Regions from separate parts of the Homo sapiens genome. Here region 1 is linked to region 2. Evidence: promoter capture Hi-C in 16 types of primary human blood cells and fetal thymus (Javierre and others, 2016). All regions are on one chromosome and are shown on one strand. The core of a region is centred on a gene start or on the middle of the fragment in contact, and the rest is flanking DNA. Distances in the headings are between cores, read along the strand shown.

Evidence for each region. Contacts are between HindIII fragments. The CHiCAGO score rates a contact against its expected background, and 5 or more counts as called.
Region 1: a contact is called between a fragment that was not itself captured here and the fragment with the promoter of OR10H2 in region 2, in 1 of 17 cell types (neutrophils). The highest score is 6.5, in neutrophils.

Annotation. Positions count from the first base shown.
Region 1 is chr19:15,152,597-15,159,368 of GRCh38, reverse strand. NOTCH3 (notch receptor 3) reads left to right here. Exons shown (of 33, transcript NM_000435.3): 33 at 1-331. Among named protein-coding and RNA genes, the nearest start is that of MIR6795, 23 kb to the left of the region's middle. The HindIII fragment of the contact is 3,609 bases long and covers 1,444-5,052 here.
Region 2 is chr19:15,724,542-15,731,248 of GRCh38, reverse strand. OR10H2 (olfactory receptor family 10 subfamily H member 2) reads right to left here and starts at 3,225. Exons shown (of 1, transcript NM_013939.2): 1 at 2,197-3,225. The coding sequence starts at 3,205. The coding sequence ends at 2,258. The HindIII fragment of the contact is 20,205 bases long and covers 1-6,707 here.

The DNA.
Region 1 (6,772 bases), core at 1,999-4,498, 570 kb after region 2:
CACAATCAGATTTAGAAATATCAGTGGCCAATTCGAGGTGGTGGGCAAAGAGACAAGCAAACAGGGCAGAAGAATGAAGCTAATATTCAGGGAGAATCAGAAATGAGAGCTCAAATGGCTCCTTGAGGGCTGGGGGGGTTATCTCGGCTCCCAGTGCAGTTATCAATTCCAGTTAATTGAGTGTTCATTCCATTGAGATCAACAGGTATTTATTAATTGCTTTCTAAGTATCTGATCATGGTTCTGCATGAATTTCACTTTTACTTCATGCTCCTATGGGTTTTGGAGATAACCTTGGACCCATGTAATAAATACTTCTTTACTTGTGCCAGCTTCGGTGGGTTTCTGTTACTCGCAACCAGTCGTGCTCCAAGACAAGGTTCTGTTTACACTGGTGTCTTCAGGAAAGGAGGATAGGATTTAATGTTCGTTGATTCTGTCAGTTGGAGTGCTCCTGGTTGCAAATGACACAAAAGTCTACTGGCTTAAACAAGAAAGGGGTTTATTAGCTCATATAAATTAAAAGGACCTACTTCAGGGGAGAATTGATCTAGTGGCTCAAATGTGGTCAACAATGGCTCAGTTTCTCTTCATCTCTACAGCTTTCTCTGGGCATCAGTTTCATCTACATGCTCCACATGGCACCCAGTAGAACCTCTCTTCCCGACATCACACAGCTCCAGCCTTCTCTCTGTGTTATCAAAATAGGTGCCATATTGCTCCTTCCAGGGAAGAGAGAAACTCCTAGTATTGTGATTGATTTTTCTTTTACTTTCTTCCTTTTTTTTTTTTTTTTTTTAAGATAGAGTCTTGTTCTTGTCACCCAGGCTGGAGTGCAATGGCACAATCTCGGCTCACTGCATCCCCCGCCTCCGGGTTCAAGCAATTCTCCTGCCTCAGTCTCCCAAGTAGCTGGGATTACAGGTGTCCACCTCCATGCCTGGCTAATTTTTGTATTTTCAGTAGAGACAGGATTTCACCATGTTGGCCAGGCTGGTCTCGAACTCCGGACCTCAGGTGATCCATCCACCTTGGCCTCCCAAAGTGCTGGGATTACAGGCATGAGTCATCGCACTCGACCTTGTGGTTGATTTTTCTATTGACTCCAATTGGTTCACGTATCCACCCTCTAACCTAAGGTTTCTTAATTTCGGCATTATTGACATTTGGGGCCAAATCATTCTTTGCTGTGGGGAGCTGTCCTGTGCATTGTAGGATATTTAATAGCATCTCTGGTCCCTACCCATTAGCTACCAGCAGCACCCCTTTTCCAGTTGTGACAACCAATATAACATGTCTCCAGACATTGCCAATTGTCATCTGGGAGGCAGATTCACACCTGTTGTTGTCTTAAAGCATGTCTTAAAGTCTCTTCTTTGGAACTACTGATGTGCTAAATTTAGGGGCAATCAGGTTTGCAGAAGCATGAATTCTGTGGAAGCTTCTAATAAATGTTTACTCCTCTCCCACCCCCTTTAGGCTAAGTCTTTGAAGATGAAACAGTCTCTTTTAGGTTTGTCTCAACTTTATTTTATGTTTATTCCCTTACCCTCTAACCTGTATTGGGCACCTACCGTGTGCCAACTCCCGGACAAGTTGTTGAGAATAGAATGGTGAATTATATAGGCCCAGTCTCTGCTTTTATGGAATTTCAGGCTAGTTGAGGGATGTATGGGGGGTGCACCCCTGTATACCCTTGGAACTTACCATTCTAGTGCTTGCTGACAGCATCTGACTGAACACCTGAGACTCTCCACCTGGGAACTTTCTCTTGTGTGGGGCAGGAGCAACCCTCAACATATGAGGGATGAATGAGAGATGGTGGATAAATACCCCAGCTTCCTCGCCACTCTCTGTGGGAATTCATGGATATGATCCACAGAGTCTCCCAAAGGATGCTCTTTGGGATTAAGCCCCAGTTGCCCACAGCAGCAACCTACTCTTCCTCACTCCTACTAGAGCTTTCTGGAATGATCTTGCGAATAAATTCCTTGCACTTGAATCATTGGCCCAAGAGAAGTCCATCTTAGCTTTATGCATGAGTAGATTCTTGGGAATAAAAAATAAAATATCTACTGGGGCTTAAGCAAGTTTGGGTATTCTTCTTCCCAAGTGCTGTACAAATGAGGAGAAAGTCCTTCTCCCTACCCATTTTGTCCACTCTATCATGCAACCTTGGCTTCATGTCAACAGAATATTGAAGAAGAGTGTCCCACAGCGGGAACCCACTTTCGTACCTGGTGGAGCTGACTTATTTGTAAGCACATGTGAGACTCACCCACACTGGGAGCTCCCTGGAATGATTGCAGAAAGGATGTTAGGTTGAGGACTAGGAAGCCTGCACTGGTGATGGAGGAAAATTAACTAATGAGATTCAAGGATTCATATGTATGTGATTTCATTGGCATGCTGAAGTTGGGAAGGGTTGGGGACTTTGGAATTGACATCCTAGTTGGTTTTTTGACTGAAAGGACAATGATAAAACAGCTGAGTGTCTGCTTTTTGCCTCCAGATCTGCACTGATCTTCCTCAACTCTTCTCTGTGCTCTGGGAGAATGACCCAGGTAGATGGCATCAATGGGTTTCCTTACTCTCTGGCTTCCACTTGGGTTTGGCCAATGAGAGACACAGGTGAGGGATTAGAGGGTGGAATGTATTTGTCTCCCTGGCTCCCTGCCTGCAGGGTACCTGCAGTGCTCTCCCTCCAGCTACCTACCCTCTGTGGGTCTGGGTTATTGTTTCCTCTGCTTGGCCCTTTTGGCATAGAAGCGATAAAGGCTCTCCACCATTGTGAGCCCCAAGGTATAGTAACATTCCTTGCCTACATTCTGCGCATGCCTCATCTGTCTAGAATGTCAATCATTTATTTATTATCTATCTATGTCTATCATCTATCGTTTATCTTTCATCCGTCTATATCTATCTTATGCTTCTCTGTCCTCTGTTGTCTATTTATATCTATGAATCTTTCTATTTTTCTATCATCTATCATTTATATATCTTTCTCTCCATCCATCTACCAATCTTTCTTCTTCTTTTTTTTTTGAGACGGAGTTTTGCTCTATTTCCCAGGCTGGAGTGGAGTGGCGAGATCTCGGCTCACTGCAAACTCTGCCTCCCGGGTTCATGCCATTCTCCTGCCTCAGCCTCCCAAGTGGCTGGGACTACAGGCGTCCACCACCGCGCCTGGCTAATTTTTTGTATTTTTAGTAGAGATGGGGTTTCACCATGTTAGCCAGGATGGTCTCGATCTCCTGACCTCGTGATCCGCCCGCCTTGGCCTCCCAAAGTGCTGGGATTACAGGCGTGAGCCACTGTGCCCGGCCTCTTCTCTTTTTTTTTTTTTTTTTTTTTGAGATGGAGTTTCACTCTTGTTGCCCAGGCTGGAATGCAATGGCGTGATCTTGGCTCACTGCAACCTCCGCTTCCTGGGTTCAAGCAATTCTCCTGCCTTAACCTCCTGAGTAGCTGGGATTACAGGCATGCACCACTACGCCTGGCTAATTTTTGTATTTTTAGTAGAGATGGGGTTTCTTCATGTTGGTCAGCCTGGTCTCGAACTCCCGACCTCAGGTGATCTGCCTGCCTTAGCCTCCCAAAGTGCTGGGATTACAGGCATGAGCCACTGAGCCTGGCCTAATTTTTGTATTTTTAAGTAGAGACAGGGTCACCATGTTGGCAGGCTGGTCTTGAACTACTGACCTCGTGATCCACCCTCCTTGGCCTGCCAATGTGCCGGGATTACAGGCATAAGCCACTGCACCCAGCCTTATCTGAGCCTTTCAAAGCCTCTATAGACAGCTCCTTCCCTAGCTTTTGGTTTAGTCTATTTGTCTCAACTGTCACTCACTGCCTCAGGCATCCATGAAGCTAAAATACCTTCCTGTAGCTGTTGTCAACAAAGGACCCCCAGAGTGAAGGCTTTTTGCATGGTTTATCTCAGAGCCAGGTCAAATACAGAGAGCTTTGCCAGTGGGATCTTGCAGGGAACCATTAGCTTGGTAAATAATGACAATTCTTGGCCGGGTGTGGTGGCTCACACCTGTAATCCCAGCACTTCGGGAGGCCGAGGTGGGCAGATCATTTGAGGTCGGGAGTTTGAGACCAGCTTGGCCAACATGGTAAAACGCTGTCTCTACTAAAAATACAAAAATTAGCCAGGCGTGGTGGTGCATGCCTGTAATTCCAGCTACTTGGGAGGCTGAGGCAGGAGAATTGCTTGAACCTGGGAGGCGGAGGTTGCAGTGAGCTGAGATTGCACCACCGCACTCCAGCCTGGGCGACAGAGAGAGAGAGACTCCATCTCAATAAATAAATAAATAAATAAATAAAATTTAAAAAATAATGACAATTCTTTGGGAATGAGGCTTGAAAGTGCTCTAGTTCTGTTTTGCTCTCTCTGGTGGATGCCAGGCTGCACCAGAGTTTGGGCTGGTATTTTTCAAGACGACCACGGAGCTGGAGAGTGGGGGAGAAGACCAGAGATGTTAAAATGCCGAGTATGCTGTTCTCACTGATATTCAGTAATTTTCTGAATACATTTTCTCTGAGTTGCTGCAAGACTTTAGTTAATTTCTAGAATTCCCAAAAATTTAGTCTAACAATTTTTTCTAGCTTTTTCATTCTTTATGGAGGACATAATTTATGGAGGTCCTTACTCTGACATTTTTTCTGACATTCCACCTCACATTGGTTGATGATTGATTGTTGGATTATGCATCTGGAGCTCAGAGTGGTTGGCTGATCTAAGATGTAGATTTGGGGAATACTGGTAAGGAAGTGGTATTTAAAACCATATGATTGTACTAATCAGTTAGAGAGAAGAGAGTCAAGGTTGAAGCCGTGAGCTACTTCAATATCAGAACAGTAAAAGTAAAGAAAGAGAGTGACAAAGAATGGTCAGAAATGAAGTGGACAAACCACATGCAGCAGATGGTGTCAGTCCCCTGCCCGCATCCACTTTCTCTGACAACTTCACTGCATATTGGCCTGATTTCCAACACTCGGTGCTTGCATCTATTTGTCTGAGGGCTTTCTCTGGACATTAAAGCTTACTCCATCCACATGTACAGCAGGACAGGAGTATTGGATAATTAATGCACTCAGGAGCAACCCTCAACAATAACCAACTGGAGTGGGTGTATACATACCTCAGCTCCCTTACCCCTCTGCAGTGAATGTTCTATGCTGCCACCCAGAGGTCTCCAGTGGGATTGACCCCAGTTGCTTACAGGGATAAGTTACTTGATAGGACATGCTTTATAAACTTCCTTTTGTTCCTACTTTCACTTCTTCAGATCTGGTATCACCTCCCAAATAAACTTACTTCCACTGGAATCCTTGTCTCAGAGTCTGTGTCTGGGGGAAACCCAAACTATGCAGGCTTTTTGGCATAGATTGGGTACACAGAATCATGAGTCTATATTCATCAGCTAGGGAGAGATAAGAAGGTCTAGGACTGAGCCCTGGGGAATTATCATATTAGGGGTCAGAAGAGGAGGAGACTAAGGAAGAGTGGCCAGAGAAAAAGCATATACCATGAAAAGAAAGAGAAAGGAGCATTGCAAGGAACAGATTTATCATCTAAGTTTAATGCTCCTGGAGAAAGGAATAAGATGAGGCCAGGTCCGACAGCTCACAGGCTAACAGGAGACACAGAGGAACACAGACAATATGAAGAGACAACCCAGGACTTCTGGTAGCCCAGATACTGCATATGACTAGCTTGGGGGTTCTTACAGAAGGCTTCCTGGAGAAGGTGATGCTGGTGGTGTGTTTTTAGTAAAAGTAGGAGTGAGTGTTGTTATGAGTGGAGCAATGGCTGTATTTAGTAGTAGAGGAGGTGGCAGGGGTCATATCACAACAGTCTTGGATGTGAAGATGGAGGGATTTTAAACTTTGAAAGCAATGGGGAGCCATGGAAGGTGCTTGCGTAGAGGAGGAGCACAGCTTGAGTTTTCTGTCCTGGGGTCAGTGCAGAGGTCAGACTGGAGGGAGTTGACACTGCAGGTTCTTGCAACAGGTAAGAATAATGCAGTCCTGAGTTGGGGTGGAGGTGAGGGGATAGAGAGAATTTTGGGAGGAAGAATGCTGATTTGGTAATTAATGGTCTAGGGAAGGAGGGATGGAGAAGGCTGAGGTCACCAAGAGATGTTAAACCTGGGCAACATTGGTAGAACAACATCAAATGATCCACTCCTTCCTCCCTCTCTTGAGGGCAGGGCCTGGGGGTGCATTTCCTCAGGAAGCAGCCTTGCCTAGCGCAGGTGGGTACTAGGAGCATGAATGAATGCTCTGCCATTCATTAATGAATTTCTGCTTGTTATCCACAAAAAGAAATAGTAATTAGTCCTTTTCCCGCTCTGTGCATGCAGGGTCTGTGGGCTTAGGAAGCTGACCCAGGGGTCTTGAGTTTCCTGGAGGGAAAATCCCCTCAGGGTGCCACCTGCCTGAGCTCCGTGGGACTTCTTAGTGTTCAGGGGGCCTGTGGGATGGCAGCTCTGGGGACCCTCAGCATAACAGGAGCTGTGTCCTCAGCCCCTCCCTTTTTAGGTGGTGAACAGAGCGATGCCAGCAGGCACTGCAGGAGCCTCCCTTGGCAATGGTGAGTGTGAATTCAGAGGCTTTTCCTGGCTGAAGGAGCCACCCCGGCCCATCCCTGGCCTTAAGGTTCAGATCTACAAATAAGTGGGGAGAGAGAGAAACTGTAGAGGGACTATGCTAACCCAGAAAAGGCTAAGCAGTGACACACTTGAATGGAGTTTCCCAGAAA
Region 2 (6,707 bases), core at 1,976-4,475:
AGCCAAAACTAAGATTAGGCCCCTACCTCACACCATACACAAAGTTTGACACTCAAAATATATCAAAAACCCAAATGTAAGAGCTAAAACTACAAAACTCTTATGAGGCAACGTAGATGTTCATGACCTTAGATAAAGCAATACAATGTTTTTTTAGATGTGACACCAAAAGCACAAGCAACAACAAAAAAAAATAGGTACACTGATGTTATCAAAATGTAAATCTATTGTGCTACAGAAAGACACCAAAAAGACCATGAAAACACAACCCACAAACTATAAGGAAATAACTGAAAATCACAGATCAGATAAAAGAGTCTTAACTAAAAATATAAAGCATTCTTACAACTTAACAACAAAAATACAAACAACCCAATTGGAAAATGGGTGGAGTATCTCAATAGCTATTTCTCCAAGAACATATCTAAATAGCCAATAAGCACATGATGAGATGTTCAACATCCTTACTCACTAGGGAAATGCAGATCAAAACCACAATGAGATACCACTTCACACCCACGAAGATGGCTGTGATCAAAAAGACAGTAACAAGTATTGGTGAGGTTGCAGAGACCTAGACCCCTGCAGCATTGCTGGTGGGAATGTAAAATGGTGCATAGACTTTAGGAAACAGCTTGGAAGTTCCTAAAAAAATAAACATAGAAATACCACTTGACCCAGCAATTTCACTCCTAGGTATATATCCCAAGGAAATGAAAGCATATATTGCAACACTTGTACTGATCACTCATAGCAGTATTACTCAAAATAGCAAAAATTAGAAACACTGAAATGTCCATCAATGACAAATGGGTAAATAAAATGTAGTGTTTCCATACAATGGAATATTATTTGGCAATCAAAATGATATACTGGCTGGGCACGGTGGTTCATGCCTGAAATCCCAGCACTTTAGGAGGCCGAGGTGGGTGGAGTGTTTGAGGTCAGGTGTTCAAGACCAGCCTGGCCAACATGGTGAAACCCCGTCTCTACTGAAATACAAAAATTAGCCAGGCATGGTGGCAGGCATCTGTAATCCCAGCTATTTGGAAGGCTGAGGCAAGAGAATCACTTGAACCTGGGATGCGAAGGTTGCAGTGAGCCAAGATCATGCCACTGCACTCCAGCCTAGGTGACAGGGTGAGACTCTGTCTTGAAAAAAAAAAAAGATGATGTACTGATACAAGCTACAATGTAGGAGAACTTCAAAAACATTATGCTCAGTGAAACAATTCATCTGAAAATAAAAGAATTATATTTACAGTTGTCCATTGATGTGAAACGTCCAGAAAAAGCAACTCTAACCAGACAGAAAGATTAGTGGCTCCCTAGGGCTGGAGGGCATGGAGATTTGGAGGAAACAGAGAGTGACTGATAATGAGTATGGGTTGTTTGTTTGTTTGAGACAAGGTTTGGCTCTGTTGCCCAAGTCAGAGTTCAGTGGTGATCATGGCTCACTGCAGCCTCGAACTCCTGGATGCAAGCAATCCTCCCACATCAGCCTCTGGAGTAGCTGGGGCTACAGGAATGTGCCACCCCATTTAGCTAATTATCAGAATTTTTGTGTGTGTCAGGAAGGGGAACATCACAGACTGGGGCCTGTTGTGGGGTAGGGGGAGTGGGGAGGGATAGCATTAGGAGATATACCTAATGTTAAATGACAAGTTAATGGGTGCAGCACACCAACATGGCACATGTATATGTATGTAACTAACCTGTACGTAGTGCATATGTACCCTAAAACTTAAAGTGTAATAAATTAAAAAAAAAAGAACTTGTGTGTGTGTATGTGTTTGTGTGTGTGTGTAGATGGCATCTCACTATGTTGTCCAGACCGATCGTGAATTCCTGACATCAAACAATTCTCCCACTCAGCCTTCCAAAGCACTAGGATTTGGGTTTCTTTTTTGGATGACTAAAATACTCTAAGCCAGATTGTCATGATGGTTGCATAACTCTGAATACGCAAAAACCACAGAAATGTGCGCTCTAATGGGTACATTGTATGGTAGGTGAATTACATCTTAATAAAGCTACTATAACTCAAAAATTAAAACTCAGATAAAGACATACAGATCAAGAGTTGTGGAAGTAAACATGCTTTTAACATTTACTGAGCACCTACTATGTGATGAGTGTTGTCATATACAGAAATCTTTACACCTGCCTTACAAGGTAAGCATTACTAGCCACACTGTGCAGACAAGGTGATGGTCATCCTCCTATCATATTCTATCAGCACTTCCACACCAGCTACTCAGGTGCCTGAGGAATAGAGTGTGCTGAGGAAGGTCCTCTTCATGGCAACCTTCAGTTCTTTGTTCCTGAGGCTGAAGATGATGGGGCTGAGGAAGGGCGTGAGGACTGCGTAGGTGGTGGCCATCAGGGTGTCACCCTCCTGAGAGTGGGGACCTTTGGGCTTGAGGTAGATGACAGAGGCAAAGCCATAGTGCACAATGACCACAATAAGGTGAGAGGCACAGGTGGAGAAGGCCTTGTTCCGACCTTCAGCAGAAGGGATCTTCAAGATGTCGGCCACGATGAAGGCATAGGAGAGGAGGATGAGGAGAAAACAGCCCAGCAGTGCCATGATACATACCAAGCCCACGCCCAGGGCCACAGCTGGTACATTATTTCCACAGGCCAACTTCAACAGAGGTGGCACATGACATAAAAAATGCTGGATCTCATGGGATCCACAGAAAGTCAGTTGGAAAATGGCCGAGGTCACCACCATCCCCATGACCGAGCCACCAGCCCAGGAGCAGCCCACCAGGCAGGCGCAGCCCCGTGGGCTCATGAGCACGTTGTAGCGCAGGGGGTGGCAGATGGCCACGTAGCGGTCGTAGCCCATGACGGTGAGCAGGAAGGAGTGGGTGAAGCCGAAGCTGAAGGAGAAGAACATCTGACTGGCACAGGCCAGGAAGGCGATGGAGCGCTGGGTGGACAGCAGGTCGGCCAGCATGCGCGGGATGATGGCCACGGTGTAGAGGATCTCGGAGACTGAGAGGACGCACAGGAAGAGGTACATGGGCGTGTGGAGGCTGCGCTCGCTCCAGACGGTGGCCATGATGAGCAGGTTGCCCAGCAGCGTGAACAGGTACATCAGCAGGAACAGCAGGAAGAGCATCAGTTGGAGGTGGGGGAAGGCAGAGAAGCCGACGAGGATGAATTCAGACATGGAGGTGTGGTTTAGCCCCAGCATGACGGCCACCCCTAGTTGGGGAAGAGAGGAAAGAAGACCCAGTGGTTAGGAGCATGGGGGTGTCTAGTGATTCCTGCCTGGGAGGACATCTGAGAGCGCCTCCTTCATCTGTCCAAGCCATGGTTACTCCATCTGCAGAAAGGCATTAATAATAATGTATTGAGGTTTAAATAAGATCACTCACCTTAAGTGCTTTGTGCAGGTCCTGACACAAAGTAAGAATTTAATAAATTATAAATGTTGATAGTAATAATTATTCTGCTATTGTTATTGCCATCACGATTATTAGATCCATGCACCACCACCTACACCTTGCTTTTCTGCCTTTGTTCATGCTGGTCTTTTCATGCTTTTCCCTATCTTTATGGGTCCAAATCCTACCTGAATTTTATGAGCAAGCTGCTCCCTGATTGCCACCTTCAGCTGGAAGTCATCTCTTCCCTATGTCATGGAAACGTCCAGACTCTGTTTAATTCTCGGCACCACTGCTTTCTAGCTGTGAGATGCAGGGCAGGTTGCTTCCCCTCTCTGAGCCTCATTGCTCCCCTGGAAAATTGAAACCACCTTTGCAAAATTATGACTGAGACAGCGAAAGAGATCTAACTTAACCAACTCCATCTTGCTTCTAACCTCCAAGCTGTCCTTGTTCATTCCAGGACATAGGGTGAACTAACTTTGGGGGAAATTTAGTTTATAGTTTATAGTTTATAGTTTGGAACAAGGACGATAACAGCCCTTTCCCAAAGCAGACCTCCTTCTTGTCTGGGGATTAGATTGCCTTTGTAGAACTAACATTAGCCACAAGATTAGAAATTATGGTTTAGGAGTCATGCAGCTGGAGGCTACAAGATTCTGACCCTCCCTAAATTGCTCCCAAGATCAGTGCTTGAGATATTTTGCAGATCCTGCACTTGATGGATCAGCTGGCACCACCCAGGTCGATAAACTGGCTCAACTGATCTTGTGGCCCCCACCCAGGAACTGACTCTCCGCAAGAAGACAGCTTTGATTTCATCTCTGACCAATCAGCACTGCTGGCTCACTGGCTTCCCCTCCACCCACCAAGTTGTCCTTAAAAACTCTGCTCCCCAAGTGCTCAGGGAGACTGATTTGAGTAATAATAAAACTCCAGTCCCCTGCAGAGCCAGCTCTGTGTGAATTACTCTTTCTCTATCACAATTCCGCTTTTTTTTTTTTTTTTCTTTGAGACAGAGTCTCACTCTGTCCCTGCTGGAATGCAGTGGCATGATCTCGGCTCACTGCAACCTCCGCCTCCTGGGTTCAAGCAATTCTCCTGCCTCCGCCTCCTGAGTAGCTGGGATTACAGGCCCGCATCACCACACCTGGCTAATTTTTGTATTTTTAGTAGAGATGGGGTTTAACCATGTTGCTCGGGCTGGTCTTGAACTTCTGAGTTCAAGTGATCAGCCTGCCTCAGCTTCCCAAAGTGCTGGGATTTATAGGTGTGAGCCACCATGCCCAGTCAAAAACTTCTTAGCAGAAAATGGTTATGGTCCACTGACCTCTAGGCTATGGGCCCAGCATGCTTCCACTACGTGACTCTGCTGGTCTCCTCCTCTTTTTGACCCCAACCCCAATCCTCCAATCCCAAACCTAACAGCAAAAACCTAGGCTATCAGCCATGGCTTCTCTCATCACCTTCCCTGAGTGGCCACAGAGTCAGATCTGCCCAATTTCTCTGCCAGGGCAGCTCTCCTCCCTGCACCAATAGGAGCCCTTCTACTTTATTTAGTTTATGGAAGTTCCCCAACAAACTAAACTAGGAGGCTGTGACTCCTCTCCCACTCTCTTTCTTGCCAGTCTGCAAACAGGCTAGATGCAAAATACAAAAGTTTATGTTACAATGCAAACTGGATCAATGAATGAATGGATAAACAAAATGTGGTCCGACCACACAATGAAATATTATGCAACCACGCAAAGATTGAATCAGTGATACATGCAACAGCGTGGATGCACTTTGAGAACATGAGGCTGAGTGAAGGAAGCCAGACACAAAAGGCCACATAGTATATAATTCCATTTATAAGAAATGTCCAGAATAGTTAAATCCACTGAGAAAGAAAGCAGATGTGTGGTTGTCAGGGAATGGGGCTAGCGTGGGATGGGGAATGACTGATGAATGGATATGAAGTTCTTTTTGGAATGGTGACAATGTCTTGTAACTAGAGGTAGTAGCTGCACAACATGTTAATGTACTAAATGCCACTGATTGTCCACTTTAAAATATTTAAAGGATAATTTCAGGTTAAATAAATTTAATCTAAATTTTTGAAAGCTCATGCCAGTTAAAACAGCTTTTATCTAAAAGATAGAAGACAATAAATAGCTTTGTCCAAAAGATAGAGAATCCAGGTGAGAACACAGAGAAAAGGGAATCCTCATACACTGTTGGTGGCGATGTAAATTAGTACAGCCACTATGGAGAACAGTATGGAAGTTTCCCAAAAACTAAAATAGAACTACCTTACAATCCAGCAATCTCACTGCTAGGCATATACCCTAAAGAAAGAAAATCATAATTTTATTTTTGAGACAGTCTCACTGTATTGCCCAGGCTGGAGTGCAATAGCATATTCTCACCTCACTACAACCTCCACCTCCTAGGTTCAAGAGATTCTCCTGCATCACCCTCCCACTTAGCTGGGATTACAGGTGCCTGCCACCACACCCAGCTAATTTTTGTATTTTTAGTAGAGAGGGGTTTCACCATTTTGGCCAGGCTGGTCTCAAACTCCTGACCTCAAGTGATCCACCCACTTCAGCCTCCCAAAGTGCTGGGATTACAGATGTGAGCCAGGAAATTAGTACATTGAAGAGATTTCTTCACTCATGCTTACTGCAGCACTATTCACAATAGCCCAGATTCGGAAGAAACCTAAGTGTCCATCAACAGAGAATTAGTTAAAGAAAATGTGGTACATATACACAATGGAGTATTACTCAGACACAAAAAAGGAATGAGATCCAGTCCTTTGCAACAAAATGAATGGAACTGGAGGTCATTATGTCAAGTGAAATAAGCCAGGCACAGAAAGACAGACTTTGCATGTTCTCATTCATTTGTGGTAGCCAAAAGTTAAAAGAATTGCTTTCAGGGACATAGAGAGCAGAAGGATGTTTATTAGAGGCTGGGAAGGGTAGTGCACATAGCTGGGGGGGAGTGGGGATGATTAATGCGTAAAAAAGTATAGTTAGACAGAATGAATAAGATCTAGTATTTGATATCACAACAGGGGGATTACAATCAACAATAATTTAATGTATATTTTATAAGAGCTAAATATAATTAGTTAATATAATAAGTATAGTTGGAGGCCGGGTGTGGTGGCTCATGCCTGTAATCTCAGCATTTTGGGAGGCCAAGGCGGGCAGATCACAAGGTCAAGAGATCGAGACCATCCTGGCCAACATAGTGAAACTCCGTCTCTGCTAAAAATACAAAAATTAGCTGGGTGTGGTGGCATGTGCCTGTAGTCCC